Regions from separate parts of the Homo sapiens genome. Here all the other regions are linked to region 5. The links are contacts of gene promoters, found by promoter capture Hi-C in blood cells and fetal thymus (Javierre and others, 2016). All regions are on one chromosome and are shown on one strand. The core of a region is centred on a gene start or on the middle of the fragment in contact, and the rest is flanking DNA. Distances in the headings are between cores, read along the strand shown.

What was found. Contacts are between HindIII fragments. The CHiCAGO score rates a contact against its expected background, and 5 or more counts as called.
Region 1: a contact is called between a fragment that was not itself captured here and the fragment with the promoter of IGF1R in region 5, in 1 of 17 cell types (fetal thymus). The highest score is 7.9, in fetal thymus.
Region 2: a fragment that was not itself captured here is called in contact with the fragment with the promoter of IGF1R in region 5 in 2 of 17 cell types (fetal thymus and M0 macrophages); the score reaches 6.0 in fetal thymus.
Region 3: a fragment that was not itself captured here is called in contact with the fragment with the promoter of IGF1R in region 5 in 1 of 17 cell types (fetal thymus); the score reaches 5.0 in fetal thymus.
Region 4: a fragment that was not itself captured here is called in contact with the fragment with the promoter of IGF1R in region 5 in 5 of 17 cell types (endothelial precursors, fetal thymus, M0 macrophages and 2 more); the score reaches 12.6 in endothelial precursors.

What each region holds. Positions count from the first base shown.
Region 1 is chr15:99,061,396-99,064,095 of GRCh38, reverse strand. No RefSeq gene overlaps it. Among named protein-coding and RNA genes, the nearest start is that of SYNM, 42 kb to the left of the region's middle. The HindIII fragment of the contact is 7,563 bases long and covers 1-2,700 here.
Region 2 is chr15:99,019,199-99,021,898 of GRCh38, reverse strand. The region is part of intron 1 of LUNAR1 (leukemia-associated non-coding IGF1R activator RNA 1); the gene reads right to left. Among named protein-coding and RNA genes, the nearest start is that of LUNAR1, 5.8 kb to the right of the region's middle. The HindIII fragment of the contact is 4,877 bases long and covers 1-2,700 here.
Region 3 is chr15:99,114,131-99,116,830 of GRCh38, reverse strand. The region is part of intron 2 of SYNM (synemin); the gene reads right to left. Among named protein-coding and RNA genes, the nearest start is that of SYNM-AS1, 9.6 kb to the right of the region's middle. The HindIII fragment of the contact is 9,267 bases long and covers 1-2,700 here.
Region 4 is chr15:99,078,406-99,081,105 of GRCh38, reverse strand. No RefSeq gene overlaps it. Among named protein-coding and RNA genes, the nearest start is that of SYNM, 25 kb to the left of the region's middle. The HindIII fragment of the contact is 562 bases long and covers 1,100-1,661 here.
Region 5 is chr15:98,647,179-98,649,878 of GRCh38, reverse strand. It overlaps IGF1R (insulin like growth factor 1 receptor), which reads right to left and starts at 1,340. Exons shown (of 21, transcript NM_000875.5): 1 at 204-1,340. The coding sequence starts at 297. IRAIN (IGF1R antisense imprinted non-protein coding RNA) reads left to right here. Exons shown (of 1, transcript NR_126453.2): 1 at 1-2,700. RefSeq lists silencers at 1,316-1,585, 1,956-2,015, 2,076-2,545, 2,556-2,605 and an enhancer at 2,617-2,700. The HindIII fragment of the contact is 3,709 bases long and covers 1-1,839 here.

The sequences.
Region 1 (2,700 bases), core at 178-2,677, 410 kb before region 5:
GGTTCTTAAATGATGTAACTTTCAGCCGGGCGCAGTGGCTCATGCCTATAATCTCAGTACTTTGGGAGGCTGAGGCGGGTGGATCACTTGAGGTCAGGAGTTTGAGACAGCCTGAACAACATGGTGAAACCCCGTCTCTACTAAAAATACAAGATTAGCCAGGTGTGATGGTGCACGCTTGTAATCCCAGCTACTTGGGAGGCTGAGGCAGGAGAATTGCTTGAACCCGGGAGGCAGAGGTTACAGTGAGCCGAGATTGCGCCATTGCACTCCAGCCAAGAGCTAAAGTCCGTCTCAAAAAAAAAAAAAAAAAGATGTGACTTTCACTCAGCCAGAAGAGTCTGAATTTGTCTGTCGTCTTCAAGCTGTGGAAGAGGACTGGAAAGGGAGACAATGACCATTTCTCTTCCCCCATTCCTGTGCAGCAGGCTCTTGCCTGCAGTAGGTCCTACAGTGGAGGGGCAGCAGCTGTCACTGTGAAGGAAGGCAGAGACTCTGGTTATCAGCCGGCACTGCATGTAACCAGTCTCTGGAGAGGAGGCTGTCTCTGTTGTCACCTCCAACATCCTATGCCCCTAAGAGTGACCAGGAAAGACATGGAACTGACCTGAGACTTCATCCAGAACCAGAAAAGGCAATTCTGAGGGACATTTCAAGGGAAAACGTGAGACAAAAATCAGTTACTTTCATGATGACATCCCAGGAGTACTGCCTGCTCAATAAGCCAGTCTCCCACATTTTGACGTCTTTACTCTAAAATCGATGTGTGAATATCTCTAAGCGATGTCTGAGAGACGATTTTAAAAACAAAAATAGTAAATGTCCGTAGTAATTTCGACTTAAGTAAACAATCTTCTAAAAATGCATAATGACACTCACAGCCTATGATGTGTCGGATGTCCTGTGCTCCAACATGGCTCCACCATAGCCCTGGCATTGGGCATCCCTGGATCCATTTTTACATAGAAGGAAGCTGCCAAGGGGCAGACCTCAGATGGCAGTGTGGATCAGTTTGACCACATTGTCTCTGCAGTCTCTTTAATCTAATGTGTGTCTGGGAGCTCCAGGGTTTTGAATGGGTTTCCATTTTCCAAAATGTGGGCATGCCTTGTGGTTCATTCAGAGACAACCAACAGATGGGCCAAGTCAGGATGGCTTTGTGATCAGGAACATGGCTTGGCCATTAGACAGCCTGGGCTCAAATCCCAGGGGGATTATCCATGAGTGACCTATCCTTAGAAAAGCTACCTAGGTGAAGGACTGTGCTTCACACATGCCTGGCACATGCAGGAAGCTCTTTATACACAATAGTAGCCACTGTTGTAATTATTCTTGTCCTTGGACTTGAAACCTGGGAAACGAGGTAAATCCCTCCTAGAGAAGGCTTCTCTGTTTCCCGACAACTTATTGGATAATTCAGGGCTGGGTCCTTGTTCTTGGAGAGCTACAAGTATAGGAGGGACACTGACTGAGATCTGAAGGGTACAGATCTAAACATCTTTCCCTCATCCCCCTCTGCCTTCAAACATCTGCCCCACTGGCCTGCCCCACAATCGTAAATTTCATCGTTCACCTTCCTTTGGGTATTATCTCTGAAAGCTCCTGTTAACAAGTAGAAGGGCTAGCACACTTTGGGTTATAGCGCCCCTGCCACAATACCCTGGATTGCTTTGAGATATGGACATGTACTGGTGTTGCGGGGCTACCTGGCAACCTTCCCACTTCCTTTCCAGGGGATTTTCCCTACTGTGGGAATCTCAGACAATGGGGCACACACAGGAGTATGCTGGAGCACAGCTCACCAGCCCACCAGCACCAACTTTTACATTCTCAGGAATCCTTCGAGCTGGTTGTTAAATGGTTGGCAAATAAAAATCAGTCATGGTGGGAATGTCTCCATGGAAGTCAGCAAATGCTGCAAATCCGGGCTTTTCCCACTGGTGAGCAAGCTGCTAAACGTTTCCCAGCCCAACACCCAGCACAGCACTTGGGTTTAGCCACCTGATCCTCCCTCTGAGGCCTTGACTCTCAATCAAGTGATCCAAGACACAGGAACAAGACAGAATCCATGTACTGCAGGGGCAGCTGGCCATGGCAGGGCAGGGGGGAATCTAGTGCGGGTGGTGGCAGTGCCCAAGGGTGCCAGCGTCAGCTGCCTCTCCCTGGCATGACTTTGGCCAAGTCTTCCTCTTGCCTTCCTTCCTTCATTTCCTGCCCAATTTCTAAGCCTTCTTCTCCTGCCTTCCCATCCATTCCAAGAGCTTCCCTTTTCTGCTATGTTAATCAGAGCTAATTCCTGCTGAGGGGTCTGGTCCATATAGGTGACTAATCATTTGACAGACAGAGGTCCCTGAGAAAAGCAAATAAGCTCTCATTTTGATTCCTCAAGAAGGAAGGCTGCTTGGGGCAGAGCAGCCTGGACTTAGTCACTTAGCGAACATTTATGGAGCACCTACTGTGTGCAGGCACTGCCCTAGTGCCAGGACAGGAAAGGAACAGGTACATCTCTGTCCCCAAGGAACTTACCACCTAGCTAATGGAAGCAGCTCTCAAACAACTAATTATGCAATTAATTTTTCTGTGGATTGCTCCATCATCATTGGGTTATACCAAATTACTGATAAATATTTGAATCCTGCAGTGGGTAAAGTACCATGCAATGTACAATGGGCATACCGAAAAAGATGAAACAGTCTGTGC
Region 2 (2,700 bases), core at 4-2,503, 370 kb before region 5:
GTTCCTGGTGGTTCTGTGGCTGCCCTGCTTTGGAAGAGCAAAGAAGCATGGAAAGTTTTCTGTGCCTTGAGAGTTAATAGGCATTGGTTTGAGCAGGTTCCTCTTAGGAGGGAAATGAAGCCATTGCCTGGGGATATAGAATGCAAAAGGTTTGAAGTGAGAAGGCACAGAGTGGACCAGAGAATGGGACAGGAAAGAAAGACAAGGAGAAGAGCAGTGGTGGGTGGAGGGACATGGCTGGATTTCAACAGTGGCCTTTGGATTCACGCAGCCTGTGTGCCCCACCTCTGCCCAAGCCTGCTGACTACTGGCCTAGGAAAAGCAAACCAACAACCACAGGTGGGCACACTAGAAGGCATGGCATTTCTAAACCACCACTGTTGTGTGCCAAAGTCCCAGACCTTCAGGTCCAGCAGGTGTCACTGACCTGCAACTGCTCCCCAGCCTTCCAGCAACCCTGACTTTAAAAGTCATGTGACCCCCGGGGCATCTGACCAAGCATTTACATTTTTCCCTAAAGTTTCTTTCTATACCACAAAACAGCCATTTTCTACAGTCCTCTGAATTTCCCAGGGCTGAGCTGTAAATCTGAATACCAGAGGAACCAGCAGCCAGCCAATGTCAGGAGCCCAGCAAAGGCCGGTCAGCTGGCCGCCAGACTAGGGCTTCAAAGTTCAAAACGACAACACTCAGCATCCACTGCCCTGCCACCACCCTATCCAAGTCTGGTCATTCACTCTGTCCTGCCAGGCCATGGCAGGACCCATGTGGAGAGGGACAGGACACCAGCCATCTTATGCTGTGGAGATCCCATTTCATACAGATATCCTACAGCCCCTGATGTGTAGAAAGGGGGTGATAAGAGCCATCTCTAGTGTAGATGCCACTACATGGCAAGGAATCACAACAGAAGATGGAAATACAGACGCCTTGGCCATCAGGGGAACTCACTGTGGACCCGGCCCTCCCAGGAAGAACAGGACCCCTGGAAAGACATTCTAGGGGATGGGCTGCCCAGAGCCCTGGCCAGGTGGTGGCAAGCCAGCTCGTCGATACACCCAATCACAAAAAAATCCCTCCTAGCAAACTTTCCTACAGCAGATAGACTATACTATCTGCTTGGGTGAGAAGTAACTGACAACCTCCATGGCCAGGTAGACTTTCAGAGGCCACCTCATCCTTTCCTTTCACACTGATGAAGGAATGGGAATAGTCTGTGGCAGTGTTATGAGTCCAAATATCCAGCCCAGTCCCTGCCCATGGTCCCCAGCGAGACCCTGCTCCCCAAGAACTGAAATCCCAGACGTGCTGGGTCCACGTTCCCCTACAGACACTTACACACCATGGACTAGAGAAGATCCAAAATGGCTGAAGACTATTTGGTTTGGGAGAGTTTTTTTGTTATTTTTTGAGATGGGGTCTCACTCTGTCACCCAGGCTGGAGTGCAGTGGTGCAATCTTGCCTCACTACAACCTCCACTTCCCAGGTTCAAGCAATTCTCGTGCCTCAGCCTCCCGAGTAGGTGAGATTACAGGTATGAGCCACTGTGCCCGGCTATATTTTGTATTTTTTTTGGTAGAGATGGAGTTTCACCATGTTGGCCAGACTGGTCTCGAACTCTTGGCCTCAAGTGATCCACCCGCCTCTGGTTTTTTAAAATTTTATGTCTACATGAGGTCATCTCTGAAGGAGTCCCCTTAGAAACTGAATCATAAATTATTTACTTTCTGGGCCTCTAATTTTTTGGAGGGGACCCCCACTTTTTGGAGGGGAGGGAGCATCCACTTTGAACCTCACCCTCATGACAGATTCCTTTCTCTGGGTGGAGTCAAACCGCCACCAACCCCATGGCCACACTGCCACTTACTATCCAGGTGACCTTAGGCAAGTTACTTCGTCTCTGTGCCTCAGCTTCCTCACCAGTGAAATGAGAATCATAACAATACAGTAGTCCCCCCTTATCCTCAGTTTTGCTTTCCGAGGCTTCAATTATTTGCAGACCGCCATAGTCTGAAAATATTAAATGGAAAATTCTAGAAATGAACAGTTGGAAAGTTTTTAATTGCATGTTGTTCTGAGTAGCATGATGAAATCTCGAGGCATCTGGATCTGTCCAACCGGAGGCATGAATCATCCCTTTGTCCAACGGATCCACGCTGTCAATGCTCCTTGTCTATTAGTCAGTGAGGAGCCATCTCAATGATCAGATTAATTGTCCTGGCGTCACAGTGCTTGTGTTCAAGTAATTCTTATTTAATCACTGCCCCAAAGCGTAAAAGTAGGGATGCTGGCAATTCAGAAATGCCAAAGAGATGCTGTGAAGTGATGCTTGCTTGCTTTCCTTCCTTCCTTCATATATGTGTGTATATATATGTATATGTATATATATATATATATATATTTTTTTTTTTTTGAGACAAAGTCTCTGTCGTCCAGGCTGGAGTGCCGTGGCACCATCACAGATCACTGCAGCCTCAACCTCCCTGGGCTCAGGTGATTCTCCCACCTCAGCCTCCCAAGTAGCTGGGACTACAGGTGTGTACCACCACACCTGGCCAATTTTTGCACTTTTTTGTAGAGACAGGGTTTCGCCATGTTGCCCAGGCTGGTTTTGAACTCCTGGGCTCAAGCGATCTGCCCACCTCGGGCTCCCAAAGTGCTGGGATTACAGGCATGAGCCACCATGCCCAGCTAGTAAA
Region 3 (2,700 bases), core at 152-2,651, 470 kb before region 5:
GTGGCAGGTGCCTGTAGTCCCAGCTACTCGGGAGGCTGAGGCAGGAGAATCAGGAGAATTGCTTGAACCCGTGAGGTAGAGGTTGCAGTGAGCCAAGATCGCACCACCACACTCCAGCCTGGGTGACAGAGTGAGACTCCATGTCAAAAAGAAAAAAAAAGAACCTGACACCTCCCCACTCTCTTGCTCGCTCTCTTGCCATGTGACATGCCTGCTGCCCTTTCACCTTCCACCATGACTGTATGCTTCCTGAGGCTTCACCAGGAGCAGATGCCAGCACCACGATTCCGGTACAGCCTGCACAACTGTGGGCCAAAATAAACCTCTTTTCTTTGCAAATTATCCAGTCTCAGTTATTCCTTCATAACACAGAGTAGACCAGCACAAGACTTTCAGGTATATGAGTAATAAATTCTTTTTCTGACTTGGGGCAGTCTGAGGAGAGTTTCTGTCACTCACAAATGAAAAATTCCTGATTAATGCTTTCTTCCCCCAAATAAAGCCCGAGTGTTTTCAAGTTTTCCATATTAAAGTTTAGATCATCTAACTCAACGTGTGTTTCAATGCCCTACCAATTTAATTGTGCAACTGTTCACCCCACAAGATTTCCAAGGAGAATGCCAACAATGGGCTTTGGGAAGTCCAGTCTGGCAACATCTTTTCCCCTTTCTCTGAGCCCCGGCCACCAGCCCCTCAGTGGCAGCAAGGCTCTCAAATGGGGGATCCAGAAAGGCCCTCATGGCCTTAGCCCCAGGACCACCCCTCAATTCATCCCTTGGTGAAGCCGTGGCTCCTCCATGGACTCCATGTCCCTGGGAAGGCCTCACCCCTTAGCAGCCTCCTGGGGCCCAGGCCAGGGGCTGCCTGATAGAGCTGCTCCCTCTTCACTGATGGGAGTGAGGGCTCAGATGAACCCTGGCTGATGTAAGTCTTCCAGAAAATAAAGACAGTGAGGCCGGCCCAGGCTGCAATGTAAACTACAAGCAACGTATCAGCCAGATACCCTTTTAATAGACATCAAAGCAATTCAGGTCACCTTGATATTCTTAGAGCAAAAAATCCTGATCAGGGCCGGGCGCAGTGGCTCACACCTGTAATCTCAGCACTTTGTGGCGGCGAGGTGGGTGGATCACCTGAGGTCAGGAGTTCGAGACCAGCCTGACCAACAAGGTGAAACCCTGTCTCTACTAAAAATACAAAAATCAGCCAGGAATGGTGGCAGGGGCCTGTAGTCCCAGCTACTCAGGAGGCTGAAACAGAATTGCTTGAACCCAGGAGGCGGAGGTTGCAGTGAGCTGAGCTCGTGCCACTGCATGCCAGCCTAGGAGATGGAGCAAGACTCCATCTCAAAAAAAAAAAAATAGAATAAAATAAATAAAATTAAAATTAAAATAAAAAATAATAAAAAAAATGAAAAAAAAAATCATGATCAGAAGATTACACAGGCAGCCTACAAGATGTGCTGAACTAGGCCTGGGGATGGTCCCTGCTCTACCCCTCACCAGGGGAGTTGGTCCCCTTCTTAACCTCTCCAGGTTTAATCTGCCACCTGTGAAGGAGACACCACTGGAGATGACCAGACTTTGACTCTTCTGCCAAAGCGGTTTCCACAGCTTGCTCACACCCTCCACTGCCACATGTTCCACAATCCTGGGAACGGAGCAGGCACTGTGCCCTTTTTACACGGCTTGGTGGGGATGGCACAGCTTTGGCACCAGACCTGGCTGGCTCTGCCCCTCACCAGCCTGCAGCCCCAACCTCCCGGCCTCTCTCTCTCACCTCTAAGAGGGGAGAGTGGTGCCCACCTCAGAGTTGACTCGGAGCAGAGAATAGTGGCAAAGAACTCAGCACCACGTCTGGCAGGCAGTAAGGACGCCATAAAGCTGGCTATTGTTAGTGTTCCTGAAGTTGGGCAACTGGGTCTCTAAAATTCCTTCCACTGTAAGCGTCACAGACCCTGGCTCCTTCATAGCTGCCCTGAGCATGAGAGCTGCCAGGAAACAAGGGGCACCACCTCAATCAAAGACGCACTGGCACCCAGGGGAAAGGAGGGTGATGCCAAGGAGGGGAGGAGCACTGTTCCGCCGGCCTGCAGGCCACACCCAGGGGGACTGGACTGCATTCTCTGCCCCACCCAGCACCCAGCCCCTTTGAGCGCTTTGTGACCTTTTCATCAGAGTTGGTTACCTTGAACTCAAGTCAACATCTTGATACATAAAGCCAGTTGGCCTACATTAGCATGCACCATGCTAATCTCTTGGAAGAGATTCAGTTCAGGGCCAAACCCACACAGGGTGGCATCAGAGCCCTGAGATTCAAAGCAACAATCAAGCAGATAGACACAGACTTCCTGGGTCCAAATCCTGTGACACGGTTTGGCTCTGGGTCCCCACCCAAACCTCATCTCGATTTGTAACCCCCACGTGTTGAGGGAGGGACCTGGTGGGAGGTGACTGGATCATGGGAGCAATTTTCCCCACGCTGTTCTCATGATAGGGAGTGAGTTCTCATGAGATCTGATGCTTTAAAAGTGGCAGTTTCCCCTGAGCTCTCTCTCTCTCCTGCCACCTTCTGAAGAAGGTTCTTGCTTCTCCTTTGCCTTCCGCCACGATTGTAAGTTTCCTGAGGCCTCCCCAGCCCTGCGGAATAACTGTGAGTCAATTAAACCTCTTTCCTTTGTAAATTACCCAGGCTCAGGTA
Region 4 (2,700 bases), core at 131-2,630, 430 kb before region 5:
ATATCCTCTAGTATAAGTCCTCTTATTTTCCTTCAAGATTGGCTTGGTTATTTTTGGCTCTTTGTCTTTCTATATAAATTTTACAAGCAACTTGTGAATTTACACACACACATACAATCTCCTAGAATTTTTATTGGAATTGTATTGATTCTATAGATCAATTTTGGGGGAGAAATTACATTTTTACAATATCGAGGGTCCATGTGAGTTAACCAGCAAAGAGCTTTTTCAAGCTTTATATTTTCTATGATTTTACTCAATGAGAATAAGTAAAGCTAATAATCAAAATAACAACAATAATTTTAATACCTAACATTTGTAATAGTTACTACACACTGGATTTTTGGGTTAAGTGCTGTATAGCCATTATATTATTTACTTAGAAAAATTAACTGTTAAAATTTACCAAAAATTATGAGACCTCCATGAAGAAAGCTATACATTTTGTTACAGGGTGTAAAAACAATATTTCAACTAATTGTGAGACACAGGATGTCCTTGAATGGGAAGAATTAATCATCATAAATGTCAGTGATTTCCAAATAAATATGTACCTTAAATTAATTCCAATCAGAATATCAATGGTGTTTTCCTGGGGCTATACAAAAAGTACTTAGCATTTATATTGGAGAAATTCTAAATGTTTTAGAACTGACAACAAAAATATTTAATTGTGAAAAGACAGTGGGTGGGATTCCCTTACCAGCTATTAAAACTTTCTAGAAAACTAATATAATAATTTTAAAACTGTATGACTTTAGCTTATAAATAAGTGTACAGATCAGAAGACCAGAAAGTCAAAAAAAATCTGAGTATATATTCAAATTTAATACATGATAAAGATGGCATTTTAGTTCAGTGGGAGAGAAGATGATTTATTTAATTAATACTGCTAACATAATTGGTTATTGATCTGGAAAATAACACCTCCAGCCATGAATAAAATCATTATGAATGAATTAACCCTAAATGAAAAATAAAAAAATGGAATAAATTTAGGAGAAAATGTGTATAATTTCAAGATTGGAGCATGGCATGGGTGGGGGGTATTGCTTATGCATAACAGGAAATCTAGAATCCAGAAGAGAAAAGACAAGCTTGACTATAAAAAGTTAAAACATGGCCAGGTGCAGTGACTCATGACTGTAATCCCAACACTTTGCCAGGCCAAGGTGGGAGGATCACTTGAGGACGCCAAGAGAAGCCAGGGCAACCTAGGGAGACCCTGTCTTTACAAAAAAAATTTATAAATTAGCCAGGCATGGAGGCAGAAGTGGGAGAATTGTCTGAGCCCAGGAGTTCGTGATTGGGCCACTGCACTCCAGCCTGGGCAACAGAGCAAGACCTTGTCTCAAATAAATAAATAAATAAAAAGTAATAAAAGTTAAAACACAAGAACAGATTGGGGAAAATATCTGCAACATTCTTGATTTCTGAGTTAATATCTGTAATATATAAGGAGCTCTTGGAACTGATAAGGAAAAAAACTTACCCAATAGAAATATGCAGAAAGGACGTGACTGGGCAATACATAGGAAGGGAAATGAAAATGGTCAATAAATGAAAGATCCCCAGACTCACTAGACAGGGAAATGCAATGTATTTTATAAGGTAACATGATAGCATTTCTCACAAATCATATTGGCAAGAATTAAAAAGCTTGATAGCATTCAGTGCTTATGAAGGTGTAGATGGAACAGTTCATACAGTGTTAGTGGGAGAGTGAATTGCTGTCCTTTGGATGAAGAACGCTGGCCAGAAGCTTTGGTTAAATGTCAAACATATACACCATCTAACCAAAGAAATCCACTGGTGGATGTTATACCTCAAAGGACACATATTTACGGATGCTTTTTCATTTTTCACAGCTATTGAAAATCAGGCCTTATTTCTGGGCTCTCTGCTCTGTTCCACTGGTCTAAATGTCTGTTTTTGTACCAGTACCATGCTGTTTTGATTACTGTAGCCCTGTAGTAAAATGTGAAGTCGAGTAAGGTAATGCCTCCAGCTTTGTTCTTTTTGGTTAGGATTGCCTTAGCTATTTGCGCTCTTTTTTGGTTCCATATGAATTTTTAAATAGTTTTTTCTAGATCTCTGAAGAATGTCCTTGGTAGTTTGATAGGAATAGCATTGAATAAGGCCACATACCTACAACCATCTGATCTCTGGCAAAGCTGACAAAAACAAGCAATGGGGAAAGAGCTCCCTGTTTGATAAGTGGTGCTGGGATAACTGTCTAGTCATATGCAGAAGATTGAAATTAGACCCCTTCCTTACACCATATGCAAAAATCAACTCAAGATGAATTCAAGGCTTAAATGTAAAACCCAAAACTATAAAAGCCTTGGAAGACAACCTAAGCAACACCATTCTGGATATAGGGACTGGCAAAGATTTCATGGTGAAGACACCAAAAGCAATTTCCACAAAAGCAAAAATTGACAAATGGGATCTAATAAAATGTGGGAGCTTCTGCACAGCAAAAGAAACTATCAACAAAGTAAACAGACAACCTACAGAATGGCAGAAAATATTTGCAAGGTCTAATATTCAGCATCTATAAGGAGAAAACAACCTAATTAAAGAGTGGGCAAAGAACATGAATAGACACTTTTCAAAAGAAGACATATGTGGCCAACAAGCGTAAGAAAAAAAGCTCAAGATCACTGATCATTTGAGAAATGCAAATAAAAACTGCAG
Region 5 (2,700 bases), core at 91-2,590:
CCGCGGGGCTCCAGACGAACGAGCCCGGGTCCCGGGTCCGCTGCAGCCTCCCTCCCGGCAGAGCCGCCCTGCGCCCCACCCCGCCGCTCCCGAGCCCGGGGGCCCGACAGCTGCGACGGTGGCAACTCGGGTTTCGCAAACAGGGCGCAGCCCCTCGGAGGAAAAGTTCCCGCAGTGGCCGCGGGCGGCGGGCACATACTCACTTTCTCCACTCGTCGGCCAGAGCGAGAGCGCGGCGGAGAGAAACAGGAGCCCCCACAGCGAGGTCGGGGACCCTCCTCCGGAGCCAGACTTCATTCCTTTTATTTGGGATGAAATTCCCCTTTCTCAAAAAAAAAAAAAAAAAAAAAAAAGAAAAGAAAAGAAAAAAAGGAAATGAAAGGAAACAAGTCTCAAACTCAGTCTTCGCTCCCCCTCCAAAAACAAGGGCGAAGGAAACAATACTCCGAAGGCGGCGCCGCCGGGGCCCTCCGGGTGCGCGGACGGGGCGGGCGGCGCGGGGCGGCCCCTCAGCGCCGGCAGCAGCGGCCCAGGGCTCGGCGGAGTCGGGAACCCGAGGCGCGCCGGGGCGGGCTGTCGGCGTCGTCGGCCTCCATTTTCAAACCCGGAGAGGCAGGAAGGGGGGAAAACTGCAAAGAAAGGGGGCAAAGCCCAAATCTGCCTAGGCGAGGAAAAACAAGCCCGGCCCTGGCCGCGCGGGAGGCGGCCGGACGCCCGAGCTTCCGCCGCGGGAGGGCGCGACGCAGTTCGCAAGATCGCCCCGAAGTCCGGGTCACAGGCGAGGCCGGCGAGGGGCAGAAACGCGGAGTCAAAATGAATGAGCGGCTCCCCCTCCTCCTCCTCCTCCTGGCTCCGCTCGCCGCCGCCTCCTCCCTCAGCGCCGCCGCCGCCGCGGCGAGCTCCTTCCCAAATCCAGGACACACACAAAGCGGCGGGCCGGCCGCGCCGCGCTCAGCACTCCCGCCGCGCCGCCCGGCTCTGCGCCGCCGCCCGCCCCGCGCCGGCCCCCGCCCGGCCCCCGCCCGCCGCCGCCTGCTCTGCGCGGGGGCTCCGGCTCGCTGAAGGTCACAGCCGAGGCGAGGCGCGCCGTGGAGCTGCCCCCGCGCGGGAGGGGCGTGGAGGGCGCGGGGGGATCCGGGGAGCGGGGCCGAGGGTCTGCGAGCGCCGGCCGTGGGCAGGCTCGCTGGCGGCGTCCCTCTCGCTCTCCCGCCTCTCTCGAGTTCGCCTGGTGCGCTCGCTCCTCCTCGGGTTTTTTCCCTTTTTTTTTCCGCTCAGCGGAGTTAATGCTGGTAAACAAGAGCCCCAGCCTCGCCGCGCCGCCGCCGCCGCTGCCACACACTGGGGGCTCGCGCGCGCGCGCGCGCCCTGGCCCGCGCACACGCGCCCGCTCGCACACTCGAGCGGCCACCGCCGCAGCAGCGGCGCGCCGAGGGCCCGGCCCAGGCCGGCGCGCGCAAAAAACCGGAGCCCGGTTCCCCAAGACGTGCGGAGCGGAGCCCGGGCGTGGGGCGCGAGACTGCGAGGCGCCGCCCCCATCTCCCGCCCCACCGCCTCCCGCGCGCACACAGAGACACGCGCGCGTGCCCACCCGCTCCCGCCCCCACCGCACTGCGCCGGCCACCCCGCACGCGCCCTCCCCTCCCGCCCGACTCCAAAAACAATGCCCCCGCCGCCGGTCCGGTCTCGGCGGGGCAGGGGTGGGTAGCCAGGGAAAGGCTAGGCAGGGGAGGGGTGGGCAGGAGAGGGGAGGGGTGGGCGGGGAGTGCGGGGCTGGGAGAGGTTCATTGAAAACAACAACAGCGCGGCTGGAAAGCGCGTTTCCCCGGTTCTTGAAAAGCTTCATTGTTTCTTGCAGCTGTTGCAAAATAAATAAATGCGTGCATGCGGCATTTTTTTCGCTGCGTACTGGAAAGCCCGAACGTGGCGGAAGGGGCGCACCTGGGAGAAAGGGGACCCCCCCCCCAGGCTACTACGCCGGGCACTTTCACGCCAGGCTGGGGTGCCCGCGGCGTTGCGACCGTGGAGCCCGGAGTTTGGGGGCTCAGGGGGAGCGGAGGGGGAAGGGCGCGGCCCGTGTGGCTCGGCCCAGAGTGGCTCGAGGAGAGAGGACCCCGCCGCCCCTCGCGGGCCCCGCGCCCCGGAAGGGGGGCCCAGACAGGCAGCGCCGCGTGCCCCGGGCGCGTCCCCGCGGCGGCCGCCAGAGGGCGCGGCGGGCGCTGGGGAGGGCAGCCCGCGGAGAGTCGCCTCCCTCCCTCCGGGGGAGGAAATGTGGGGGCCCGGGCTGGGGGCCGACTCGGCTGGGTCGCGCTGGCGTGGCCTCCCGGACCAGCCGCCCGCCCTGAGCGCTCTCCGCGGCCTCGCGCAGCTCAGGGCTCCACCACGTGGGCGGCTGCGGGGAGCGGCCGGGGCGCGTGCACGCTGCGGGTCTCCGAAGCTCGGGGGGCGTGTCCGGGTCCCGGGGCGCCGAGGAGGGGGTGGAGGCTGGGGCCGGGAAGCCTCCCTTGGCCGCGGTCCCGACCCGGGAACACGCCGCATGCACTCGGGATCAGCGGCTACTGCGGAAACCCACCCGCACCTGTCTCGGGTCCTCCCAGGCACGTTCCTCTTGCTTCGTTTGCTACGTAAGTGACTGGAAACCAGTACCGACCCTAAGTCTCCGCGGTTGTTTTCTTGAATGTGCAGGAGGAGAGGTTTCCCCAA